4 separate regions of the Homo sapiens genome follow, and regions 1, 2 and 3 are each linked to region 4. Evidence: promoter capture Hi-C in 16 types of primary human blood cells and fetal thymus (Javierre and others, 2016). All regions are on one chromosome and are shown on one strand. The core of a region is centred on a gene start or on the middle of the fragment in contact, and the rest is flanking DNA. Distances in the headings are between cores, read along the strand shown.

Region 1 (3,001 bases), core at 299-2,798, 520 kb before region 4:
AAGTTAAGTCTGGACAAGGTTCAGTAGAAATGTGGTGGATACCTGTTAATCCTGCTTAACTCATTTCCAGCTCCCTGGTTCGTAGAAGTTCTACATGAGGCTGAGCAGCAGGGTTATCTCCAGGGCCCCCAGGGTCAATTCTTCCTCATAACTCCTCCTTTTATCTGCCAAAAGGAAGTCAGCCTTTTCTCAGTTCTCTCAAAAAAGAATTCTGTCAGAACAAGGATCACTGAGGAAAAGGAAAAAAATTAAAAATTCTGATAAAATGATTACTGGCATAAATATTCTTGAAGTACCTATTTTTAAGCCATGTTCCTTTCCTTATTCTAAAATGAAATAACAGATACAGAGGGCCGTGTGTGGAGCTGGTACTGTGTATGTCCTGCCCTGCCTTTTTCAGGCTCCAGGTAGAAGAAAAGGAACCAAGCAGATCTAAATGTTTTGCTCTGTTCGTTTTTGCTATCTCCTGACAGGGGAGCCCAAAGAAGTGTGAAGCTGAAGAGGCAGAGCCACCAGCTGCCACACAGCCCCAAACCTCAGAGACTCAGACCTCTCATCTGCCAGAATCAGAAAGAATTCATCACACTGTGTAAGTGATATATCTCGACCGGGGTATAACAGGGAACTATGAGTGTGCGATAGTTCTTCGCTCCCTAGGGTTCTTTGACTAAGCAGTCCTAGTTTCCTTTTAAAACATAAAGGCAGAGCTTTATCTGGACAAAGGCTAGACTTCAGTTACTATGTTGGGAGCTGCCACCTTTAAGGTAACCTGAAAAGTGGTCGTCAGGGCACAAGGAAAACTCACCTGGGATCATCCAGCCAAAATAGTCAACTCCTTTAAGATTTAGGCAATAGAAGCTTCTGCTTCCACACTCAAAACCATGTAAGGGAATTGACTCCGGGCATCTTAATCTTTAACTCATGTTTACCTAGGAACCCAGTTTAATAAAGGATATTGAGGGTCTTAATAAAGGCACAGCTGGGTGCTATTTTTTAGTTTGTGCATTTTCCCTAGTTCCCTAGTTACTACCTGTCATTAAGCTATCCTAGTTCTGCTAGGATATCCTAGTTCTTACAGCATACAGTACAGCAAATTATGAAGTTCCTTTCAAGTCAGAAGTTTGTTCCTGGGCCCTTAAGACCATTTGATTGAACTTAAAATTTATACAATTAATGTGAGTTTTTAAAATCTTTATATTAAGTCCTAGAGAAATACTCATATCAGGTTAAATTAGAATTAAATAGGTATGTCATTCATTCTTCTGAGATAGGTATTATAAATTAAGAAGCCAATGAGCCAGAATTCCTGGCTTCAAAGTCTCCTGGGAAATGAAAAAATGAAGCCTTATGGGAATAAGATTGCGTAGCTTTTAGACATCAGGAACCCTGAACTGCTTTGTAGAATGTCCTGTGTAGACTGTTAGCCTAAAGTTATTCTATACTTGTTTTTATGCCATATTAACACTAATGCTACCAGTATGATTTCCCCTATATGTAATTGTCTAATAATTTATACTCTTCTGAGAGCTTCAAACTGTACTTTAACTCTGACTTTTGGAGGGTAGTGGGCAGGTGACATGATTTATCTCATTTGCCTGTGACTTTAATGATAGTTTTATAGACCTTACTATATAGCTTTTACCTGGGGGTATACCCTTGCTGAGGGGTATAATCCTTGTCGATTCTGACAGTCTTACCTCTGCTGCCATCTTGTGGCTGTTAACATTTTTTGTTTGGCAGCCAAAAGTTCACTCTACTTCCTTTGAAATTTTTTGGTTTTTCCCTTCTGGAATGGGTACGCTATCCTTTGGAAAAGGGTTTTTCTTCTGGGACCATAAAGTGAAAACTCAGCGGATTCTGGAAGGTATTCAGGATTCCCCAGCTACATCATCGATGAGGAAATGGGGTGACATTTTCTCTTCCATATCCCTCAACCAGACATAATACCTGCCCCCCTCCTCCCAATTCCATGGAGGTACATTTTACATTCCATTTTACAAAAGCATGTCCTTTGTGAAATGGCAGTTTTGAAGTGGGTATTGACAGCCTGCTACTAATTGGGCCTGAGGAACTGCTTCCGATGCACCTTGGGAAGAAAGTGATTTTCTGAAAAGCTCTTTGCTAGCCTTAAAATTCTGTGGGTTTATGAGATCCTAGCAACAGAAAGGCATTTTATTTTGTTTTGAAGCAGCTTTTTTTCTGGACATTCCCATGCAAGTCCAGGGCACATGAAGCTTGGAGTCATAGAGTTTCCTGTCCCCCCACTCCAGGTAAAGGTGGTTTTGATCTTCATTTTATGACTGAGATAATTTAGTCACATTGATTCTAATAAGATGATAGGCAAGTGGCATCTTGGGCAAATACTTAGATTGTCCATTGTTGCCTAGGCCCGCTTCAGTGGAGTAGTGTATAGAAGGGAAATGCAGTCTTCACTGAGGAGCAGTTCACACACATCACTCGTACCTGCTTTCCTTCTACCTGCCTATCACATGGGTTGTTCAACATTCTAACAAAACAGCATGCCCAGAAGCCTAAACCCATAGGCATTGGATCTGGTAAATAAATCTTTGAGAAGGTTGCATACATTTCTGGAGGCCCTACCACAACTGATTAACAACACCCTTCCTGGTCTCTCACCCCTCCAGAGTGTTAAGTGTGCAGTCTGGCAGCCCTCTAGAGCTCTGGCCAATTTTGAAAGCGTAATCAACAATGCTAAATGGAAAAGACCATTTATGGCATGGCCAGGCGTGGTGACTCATGCCTGTAATTGCAGCACTTTGGGAGGCCAAGGCAGGTGGATCACCTGAGGTCAGGAATTCGAGACCAGCCTGACCAACATGGTGAAACCCCGTCTCTACTAAAAATACAAAATTAGCCGGGCATGGTGTGCACCTGTAATCCCAGTTACTCAGGAGGCTGAGACAGGAGAATCGCCTGAACCCGGGAGGCGGAAGGTGCGGTGAGCTGAGATCACGCCATTGCACTCCAGCCTGGGCAACAA
Region 2 (3,034 bases), core at 457-2,956, 600 kb after region 4:
AATGAACTTCCTAAGCTCAGAGTTCCTCACCTGTGACATAATACCACTTCATGGGTAGCATCCCTTACTACCCATTACATCATCTTTTGAGGACTTAAAGGAAGGAGAAACTGATGGAAATATATCAGTGTTCATGCTGTTTGTTGTGCCATAAGTAATAAAAATCCTTTGTCTCTTACTAAGGAGCCCTGTGTTTTTATTGACAGCCTCAATGAAACAAGCTTATTAGCTTGTAAGAAGGGACAAAATCCAAGACCTGACAAATCCTCACTAAAGGAGTTGTAAAGATTTGTAAAGTAAAGATTTAAATTACACATGAGAAAGGTAAGTTTCTCCAAACTGGTATGAAACAGGCCTTTTATGAAGGATATAACATACATAGCTGAGAAAGGTAAGTTTCTCCAAACTGGTATGAAGCAGGCATTTTTCGGAGGATATAATATACATAGCCCCATGTGGTAATTAACCATCACTTCTAATAAAACGCTTGAGCAATTTTCTAATATCCTTTAATGAAATAAAGATTCCTTCTGGGAAATTAGTGTTACAAACTCAAATGACCATTAATCTTGTGAGAAGCCTAATAGTCACTACACAGGCAGTCAAAAGCAGGGTAATTATGCAACCGTCATTTGAATGCAATAATGATCTTTAACCAGATTTTTAAAAATCTGGATTCCTGTAACAATATACCAAGGCTAATTATTTGAATTTGTTTCTTGAGGAGCTTTTTCTCTTGCAGTAATTTGAAATAAAACTTTGATATGTGCTCATAATTATTAGGCTTGAGAAGTTACTTTTATACTTTCCAAACATCTTTTAAGTATGTCGTTTTTCTTTTAGATATTTCGCTATGGGTTACTAGCCTTAAGAGTTGACTCAGTCCTTCACATCACATCTGATAAGGTGAGGTCAATTAAGTGAGGAAAGGTTGAGGCCCTGAGTGAATCTATTTGACAGAAGCCACTAAGTACAAAAAGACTGGGTTCTGAGTCTGGGGGTGAGGGCCAGAGAAAATTGAGCTGCCCCACATAGTGAAGTAGAGACAACATACACAAAGGTCAAAGTTGCTAGAGTGGGAATGAGAGGAAGGGAAAAGGGAGAAAGAGGGGAGGGCCAAACAAATTTCATTCTTCATTCACTCAGTAGAATTTTTGACCGATTACTATGGGCTAGTCATTATTCTAGACACTAAGAATAAAGCCAGGAAGAGGAGCTCCAAGATCGTCAATTAGACACAGCTAGAAAGAGCTTCTCCTACCAAGAGATCAGACCATCAGGAAGACTTGCATTCTCTGAGGGTATCGTCAGAAAGAATGCATTGAGAATGGATGGAGACAAGACTCAGACCCTGGACCAAAGTGAGAGGAACCCGGGAACCCTGCACAGGGCTGCCAAGCACTGGGACTCATTCATGACGCTCAATGTCTCCAGAGGAAAGGCTGAATTAGATAGGTGAGCATTTGCTAACTCCTCCCATGGACCTCTCGAATCCTAACTGCAGGAGACCCCATGATGCCCATAGAAATTTGAGCTGGCAGGGAGAGCTACTTGGAGTGCTGGCAGTGACAGGACTCTAGCCTGTGTGAAGCCCAGAGTGTTTAGCATGGGAATAGAGGCAGTGAGCCCAGTAGGGATGCCTATTCCCCAAGGTGCACCATGCTCCTCTACGTGGCTCTAGCCTTTGTTGACTGTCAGACCTGGACAGAGTAGAGGTGTCTTGCCCATGGGTCAGGACTAGTCTGATCTGAGCACCCCCTTGTCTGCCGACCTCTCCCAGGGTCCCTACCTGACCATGCCTACTTGCAACTCTGCGTTAGGTGTCCAACCAGGGCACTTCCTGGTGACTGGTGTCATAGCTACTTCACCAGCAAACTCTGCCTAACCATCAGAGAGCTTCTGCAGACAGGCCACTGCTGACACATATCCACACCCTCCCGCCATTGCCCCTGGCACAGGTGTACATGAGCCCTGATCCTGCTGCCACAAGTTCAATGAAGTGCTTTTGCCAGCACCCCCAAGTGGAGTGTTGATGTCAGCAAACCAGTAACACCTCAGCCCCTCCAGTTCAGTCGGTACTTAACCTAAAGGGGCCAGAGAACAAAGAAGTGGGCCTGGTCCCAACCCCATAGGGTTAGAGCATGCAGTGCAGGAATGCTCATCTGAACCCGGGACCCCTGAAATCATCCAGAAATGAAGCCAGTTGACTGAACGCAACTTATTCCACAGTCAAATCCCTCAAGGGCATAAAATAATATAAAAGTAAAAAAAAAATTCAAAGGACAAGAACTTCAAATATTAAAGGATCATCAGCCTACACAGATGATAAATAACCAACACGACAACTTTGGCACCTCAAGAAGCTAGAGTGTCTTCTTACTTCCAAACAACCACACTAGCTCCCAGGCAATGGTTGTTAACCAGGCTGAAATGGCTGAAATGACACACAGAGCAGTCACAATTTGGATGTAAGAACATTGAGATTCATAAGAAAATTGAAACCCAATCCAAGGAATCTAAACAATGTAAAGAAATAAAATAATATGAGATCTGAAAGACAAAATAGCCATTTTAAGAAAGAACCAAACTGTTCTGATAGAGCTGAAAAACTCATTACAAGAACTTTATAATACAATTGTTAAGTATTAACAGGAGAATACAACAAGCTGAGGAAAGAATCTCAGAGGTCAAAGAATAGTTCTTGGAATCAACTCAGTCAGACAAAAATAAAGAAAAAAGAATAAAAAATAATGAACAAAAATTTCTGAAAAATATGGGATTATGTAAAGACACCAAATTTATAATTCACTGGCATCCCTGAAAGAGAGAGAGAAAGAGAAAGGAACTTGGGAAACATATTTGAGAATATTGCCCATAAAAATTTTCCCAACCTCACTAGGAAGGTCAACATTCAAATTCAGGATACTCAGGGAGCCCCAGCAAGACATTGTACAAGACAACCATCTCCAAGACACATCGTCATTAGATTCTCCAAGGTTAACGGGAAAGAAAAAATATTAAAGGCCACTAGAGG
Region 3 (2,935 bases), core at 110-2,609, 540 kb before region 4:
GCACTTCCAAAGTAATCTCAGCACTTTGAGAGGCCGAGGCAAGAGGATCGCTTGAGCCCAGGTGTTCGAGACCAGCCTGGGCAACATGGCAAAACCTCATCCCTACAAAAAATAAAAAAATTAGTTGAGCGTAGAGGTGCCTACCTGTAGTCCTAGCTACGTAGGAGACTGAGGTAGGAGCATCACCTGAGCCCGGGAGGTTGAGGCTGCAGTGAGCCCTGATCGCGCCACTGCACTCCAGCCTGCGTCAGAGTGGAGGGACCCAGAGTGGAGTGACAAAAAAAAAATTTTTTTTTTTTTTTAGTATGGTATCTATTGGTGCCTTGCAATTTTTTTTTTTTTTTTTTTTTTTTTTGAGACGGAGTCTTGCTCTGTCACCCAGGCTGTAGTGCAATGGCGTGATCTCAACCACTGCTTCCTGGGTTCAAGCGATTCTCCTGCCTCAGCCTCCCGAGTAGCTGGGACTATAGGCGTACGCCACCACGCCCGGCTAATTTGTTTGTATTTTTAGTAGAGACGGGGTTTCACCATATTGGCCAGACTGGTCTCCAACTCCTGACCTCAAGTGATCCGCCCGCCTCGGCCTCCCAAAGTGCTGGGATTATAGGCGTAAGCCACCGCGCCCGGCACCTTGCCACTGATTTTGCATCATGAATGCAACGGAAAGATCAGCCAATTTGACTTTAATAGTTTTCAGTCTCTTAAATCTCTAACGTATCTCTTAAATCTCTAAACTATTTGTCTGTGACCTATTTTACTGTTTGTGTTTCTTCTGCATCAAGTTGGAGGATTGGTAGTGACAAAGAAAGAAGCCCCTAAACAATTAATATTAGTTCAAGTACCAAAAAAGTTCAGGGCGCTTGCATTTTCCAGTTCTTGCCCTACAGGAAGCAGTTCCTCCAAGGGAACTTACTCTCTTCTGCGGAGCAAGGAAGAACTTTCCCAGAATCTTGCCACATGGCTTCCAAGGCAAACTCAAACTCAAGTTCAGCGTCATAGATCAGTTCATAGTCTGGGTCCGAAGACACGGCGATGCTTCTTGCGCACCCCCACGGAGCTTGTTATTCCGATTCCGCACCAGCCCCCCGCCCCTCCCCAAAAAAAGCCTAAGATGGGAGTGGCTATGATTCAGAGGACAGAGGGCAGAAGCTGTTTGCGTTAAGGAGTGGGGGGCTTGCCCTATTAAGGTAATCCGCAAACACCGAGTCTGACCCGGCCCATAGAGGTACTTCTACCCCGCTTACCTCCCCTTTTCTCTCGAAGGGCACCCGAAGATTGTCACGAGTCCTTAGACTCCAACTACTGCGGCAGCTTCCAAATTTCCTGAAAACCCTAAGCTGGGCCAGCCCGGCAGCCCACGCACTTCCGGCCTCGGACCCGCCCCAAACACCCAAGCGCCCCAGCGCCTCATCTCTAGGTCCGGAAATAAACGAACATCTCCGATTATGGTTATACCAGGGTCGAGGGTTTCCGAATATATTCGATTCAAAGCTTCGGCAAGACGAAGAAAACCGAGCCTGAAAGCAGGGCGAGAAAAGGGGCGCTGCAGGGCGGATGGAAAGAATTGATTGGTAACGATGTGGAGACGGAAACATCCGAGGACATCCGGAGGAACCCGGGGAGTTCTGAGTGGTAATCGAGGGGTAGAGTATGGCAGTGGGCGGGGTCATCTCGGTACGTTCGAAGGGCGTTGGCGGAAATTACCGAAGATGCCCGAAGCCGTCGGGACGGACCCGAGTACCTCACGCAAGATGGCGGAGCTGGAGGAGGTGACTCTGGACGGGAAGCCTCTTCAGGCGCTGCGGGTGACCGACCTGAAGGCCGCACTGGAGCAGCGAGGCCTAGCCAAGAGCGGGCAGAAGAGTGCCCTGGTCAAGCGGCTCAAAGGGGTGAGGAGTCGGCGTTGCTGGGGTGTCGGAGGAGAGCGGACCCGGTAGAGACGAGCCTCTGCCGCGGCGCAGGCGCAGTATCCGGGCTCGGCGCGAGCTCGCTCAGGCCGCCAGCGCGAGCCTCTGGATCCGCGCGCACGGTGGTTGATGAGGTTCGCGCTGGAATGGAGATCGCGCCGGTTCCCGCCTTAACGGCAGCAGCGCGAGCCCAAATGGGAGGGTGTGCACTACTCTCCAGGAGTGTCTTAAGCTCCTTCCTCCTTCCCCCACCCCCTCCTTGTTTGTATCTGTGGTTTCGGCGCATGCGCTGCAGAAGGAGTTAAATCCCACTACAACCTACGGCGTTGCTGGCCTGAGGGGGGCGAGTTGGGCTGGGTCGGAGTTAGGGGTATAGTTGCGCGAAGGGGTGGATGGGGTTGGTATCGGTATCTGCACGAATAGGACTGGGGTAGGGTAAAATGTCTGCTCGATTAGATGAGGAGGTGAGATGAAGAGAGACCTTTATTTGAAGGGACTTGATGAGAGAGAGGTCTCTAATTTAGTGGCATCTAGTGGCAATTTGGGTGGTTAAGAGTTTGGTGAATATTGGTGAGAGAGGCGAGGCAGGTTGATATATATTGGGGATTTTGAATCGGTTTGAGTAGATTAAGGTGGGATTGTCATGAGGTAGGTGTAGCTCGATTCAAGTGTATAGGTTTGGTTTAAAGAAGGGAAGATGAGGATGTCTTGGTTTTAATTAGAGTTCAACAGGATACGTGGCAGGTAGTGCAGATTAGGTCTGGGTTGGCTCCAGGGTTGAGTTGGCAGACCGTTGCTTATACAGAAGCTGATAGTTTTGTGTGTGTGTGTTTGTGTGTGTGTGTTTGTGTGGATAGACTAGGTTAGACCACAGTTTACAGGGTCTGTGGTCATTTTCTTCTGTAGCTTCCTCTTTGAAAATTTTATAAATTTGATAAATCTAGGTGCCACAGTACTGGAAATTATACAAATTGACCCTGGTACTGGGTAACCCTTTGACCAAGTAATTCCGTCAGGCAAAAACCAGG
Region 4 (2,911 bases), core at 49-2,548:
GCCCACTTTTTTCTCAGTATGGCAGTGCCATCTGACCTGGCCCAGCCCATCTTGTTCGGGTCATGGTTCGTCTTCCTGGGCATTCTGATGCATTCCCACTTCATATTTGCACTGGGATTTCAGTTTACTAAGCATTCCACACCCATTACTGCTTTCAATCCCTTCAACAACACTGAGAATAGGTGGGCAGGTATTTTTATCTCTATGTGAATAATAACACATGGGGACTCAGAAAAATTAAAGGCCCCAGGAGAGAAGGCTAGTGAGGGGCAGTGACGCTTAGGGACAAACAACTGGTTCTCCTGCCTCCTGCCTGAGGACTCCTGCCTGAGGAGAATATAGTAACAAAAGCCTCTGTCTTGCAATTGCAGCCATTAACACATCTCTTTCATACCCACTACTCACTGGACTGTTAACTCCTTGAAGACAGAAACTCTGTGTGTGTGTGTGTGTGTGTGTGTGTGTGTATTTAATGGGAGCAGTACTTTCTTGAGGCATAATTACATGAAAATACACTAATGATGCATTTGATATATATATAGCCATCACCCAAGATAAAGATATGGAACATTTCCACCACCCCTGAAGGTTTCCTCGTGCCCCTTTTCAATCCATCCTTCTACCCCAGAGGCAAACAGTGCCCTAATTTCTATCACCTGTGATGCGTTTTGCCTGTTCTTGGACTTCATCTGTATGGAGTCATAGTTTGCACAGAGACTGAATCCCCAGAGCACGACACAGCCTGGCACATGGCAGGTATACAATGCCAAAGAAAGCCTGGTTCTTAAACTACCTGTGAGAGAGAGTTCGTCCCACCGGGAAACTGAGGCGGTGGGCGGTTAGTGACCTGCCAAAGGCACGAGTGTATGATGTGGTGGATCCCGGACTCCAGCCAGCCTAATTCCGAACCCAAGGCCTCCTCCGGGCCCCCAGCCCTCCCTGGGCACTTCCTCCAGGGCTCCGGGTGGAGCGGGTCTGACGATCCCGGACGAACAGCGCCCCCTGCTGCCGGCCCAGGCCCCAGGCCCTCCTCTCCTTTGGGGGGGGATGTGACAGGATGACACAGGCCTTGCGCCCAGCGCAGTGACGGGCACAGGGCAGGGACTTGTGGGATAAAAGTCACCTGCCCTTTTATTTTCCTCGGAAAAGAGCTTTTCCTAAACTTTGGGGGCTTTCTATCTCCAGAATTAACAGACAAAGGGAGAAGAGGTCTTTTTGGTGGAGCGCTGCTGCCCCCATGCGGGTGGATGGCGACACTACCGAAGAGCAGGCGATCAAGCCTGGTATTTTTGGGTTTCAGGTTCTGCGGCTCCCTGAGACCAGCAGATTCCTGGTCTCCGGGTCCCTGGGTCCCGGACGTGTCCATCAAGGCGTCCATTAGGGCCATCACCTAATGGACAAGCATCAGGGTAAGGGGGGAGGTGCTATTGGGGGGGGGTCCCTCAGAGAATCAGCCCTAGCTCTGTGTGGGGGCAAATACGGCCTCCCCACCTCCTTCCCTCCCAGGAGACACTGGCCTGAGCATAAGTCTCGAGGGTCTGCCCTGTACTAAGCAAGCGCTTAATCAGGTGAGATCAAGGTCTGATCTTGGCTGGTTTGGAGGGGCAGCAGAGGTGCGGTGAGGGAGGCGGCTCAGCGGTGGGGCCAGCAGCACCTCCCCAGCCTGCTTGCGGGCCCGGTGCAAGTCACCGAGGGGCCGGCAGCCCCTCCCAGCCTGGCATGTTGGCCTTGCTGCACCTGCGGTTGGGGGGTGGTGTAACGGCCCAGCCTGCTCCCCTCGGCACGTGGCCTGGGGCGATGCTATCTCTAACTCAGTATTTTAAACTCTTCTTTCCAGAGGATGTGGCTTCTGCGGGAGAGCTTCAAAGGGTGCCCTACTTGCCCCTCTTGGTAACCATGACGTCATGGAAATGGGAGGGGACCGCCCCAGCCCCCAAACACCTGGAGGGAAGTGGGAGACTTTTTCCACTTCCTGTTCTACTTGTGGCTACTGACTCAATGTCTGACCTGTTTATTAATTGCAAAATATAGCTCTATGTGTGCTACCCAGAGAGGCCTCAGGCCTGTGTGTCTCTGTGTGAAAGGAGGCCTGCACTCCCCACCCCTCGCCGCGTTGCCCAGGTGGCCTTGACACAGACGCAGGGCGCTGGTGGTCCTGCAGCCTTCCGGCAGCCAGAATGACAGCACTGGGTCTCCATGTGCTTGCTCCCCCAGACTCATCCCAGTCAGAAGCTCGTCTTCCCACACATGGCTCACGGAGGTAGATGGGTTTTAGAGTAGGACTCATGGAGAAACTGAGGCGAACCCACATAAAGTGACTGTTGGCTCTGGACCTCAGTGTGGTCACACAGTGAGGTCAGACTCCCAGGTACCCTGCGTGATTTACCACAGTCCCTGTCCTCCAGGCTTTGTTGGATAGATGTGTGCCTGCCTGGGGGCTGCCCTGAGCAAGGGGCCACCACTCAGGCTTTCCTTGTTCTGAAGTTCTTGACAAGTTACTTTAGCTCTTGGCAAAACTGTGAAGCATTGACTCACCTGACCACTTCCTCTACTAATCCCCACTTTCCTTTCTCCTGTACTCCCCACTCCTCACACTCAGCTCCCCCCACCCAGAGCCTAACTGCAGGAGTCATTCACTTATTCATTTAACGGCATCTGTTGTGTGCCAGGCACTGTTCTAGTTCCTGGGGACACATTGATGACAAGGGACATTCCCATCCCACAGAGCACACAGGCCAGGGGACTTCCACACTAGGATGGTACCTGATAATAAGGTGCTATAGGCCTGTCTGTATACGTGATCCCAGGGGAGTTGAATTTTATGTTTGGACCTAAAAAATAAGCAACTCCTTAAGACTCAGATGGCTGCCCCCAGTGAGGGTAGCAGCAGAGGGGTTGCTCTGTCAGAGCT

What was found. Contacts are between HindIII fragments. The CHiCAGO score rates a contact against its expected background, and 5 or more counts as called.
Region 1: a fragment that was not itself captured here is called in contact with the fragment with the promoter of LINC02332 in region 4 in 1 of 17 cell types (total B cells); the score reaches 5.4 in total B cells.
Region 2: a contact is called between a fragment that was not itself captured here and the fragment with the promoter of LINC02332 in region 4, in 4 of 17 cell types (naive CD4 T cells, total CD4 T cells, activated CD4 T cells and 1 more). The highest score is 10.6, in naive CD4 T cells.
Region 3: the fragment with the promoter of C14orf119 here is called in contact with the fragment with the promoter of LINC02332 in region 4 in 1 of 17 cell types (neutrophils); the score reaches 5.1 in neutrophils.

The regions. Positions count from the first base shown.
Region 1 is chr14:23,075,739-23,078,739 of GRCh38, reverse strand. It overlaps ACIN1 (apoptotic chromatin condensation inducer 1), which reads left to right. Exons shown (of 19, transcript NM_001386863.1): 8 at 474-589. It overlaps LOC124903288 (a long non-coding RNA gene), which reads right to left and starts at 474. Exons shown (of 2, transcript XR_007064077.1): 1 at 43-474. RefSeq lists an enhancer at 1-348. The HindIII fragment of the contact is 1,376 bases long and covers 861-2,236 here.
Region 2 is chr14:21,957,824-21,960,857 of GRCh38, reverse strand. It overlaps TRA. Among named protein-coding and RNA genes, the nearest start is that of OR4E1, 290 kb to the right of the region's middle. The HindIII fragment of the contact is 2,966 bases long and covers 224-3,034 here.
Region 3 is chr14:23,093,929-23,096,863 of GRCh38, reverse strand. C14orf119 (chromosome 14 open reading frame 119) reads right to left here and starts at 1,359. Exons shown (of 2, transcript NM_017924.4): 1 at 1,245-1,359. It overlaps ACIN1 (apoptotic chromatin condensation inducer 1), which reads left to right and starts at 1,728. Exons shown (of 19, transcript NM_001386863.1): 1 at 1,728-1,889. The coding sequence starts at 1,752. RefSeq lists enhancers at 925-1,448, 1,328-1,537, 1,558-1,637, 1,449-1,972, 1,678-1,987. The HindIII fragment of the contact is 5,470 bases long and covers 1-1,493 here.
Region 4 is chr14:22,555,449-22,558,359 of GRCh38, reverse strand. LINC02332 (long intergenic non-protein coding RNA 2332) reads left to right here and starts at 1,298. Exons shown (of 3, transcript NR_146543.1): 1 at 1,298-1,409; 2 at 1,507-1,568; 3 at 1,838-2,049. It overlaps LOC105370399 (a long non-coding RNA gene), which reads right to left and starts at 1,794. Exons shown (of 2, transcript XR_007064066.1): 1 at 794-1,794. RefSeq lists enhancers at 693-902, 1,763-2,102, 2,153-2,252, 2,833-2,911 and a silencer at 1,603-1,652. The HindIII fragment of the contact is 9,123 bases long and covers 1-2,911 here.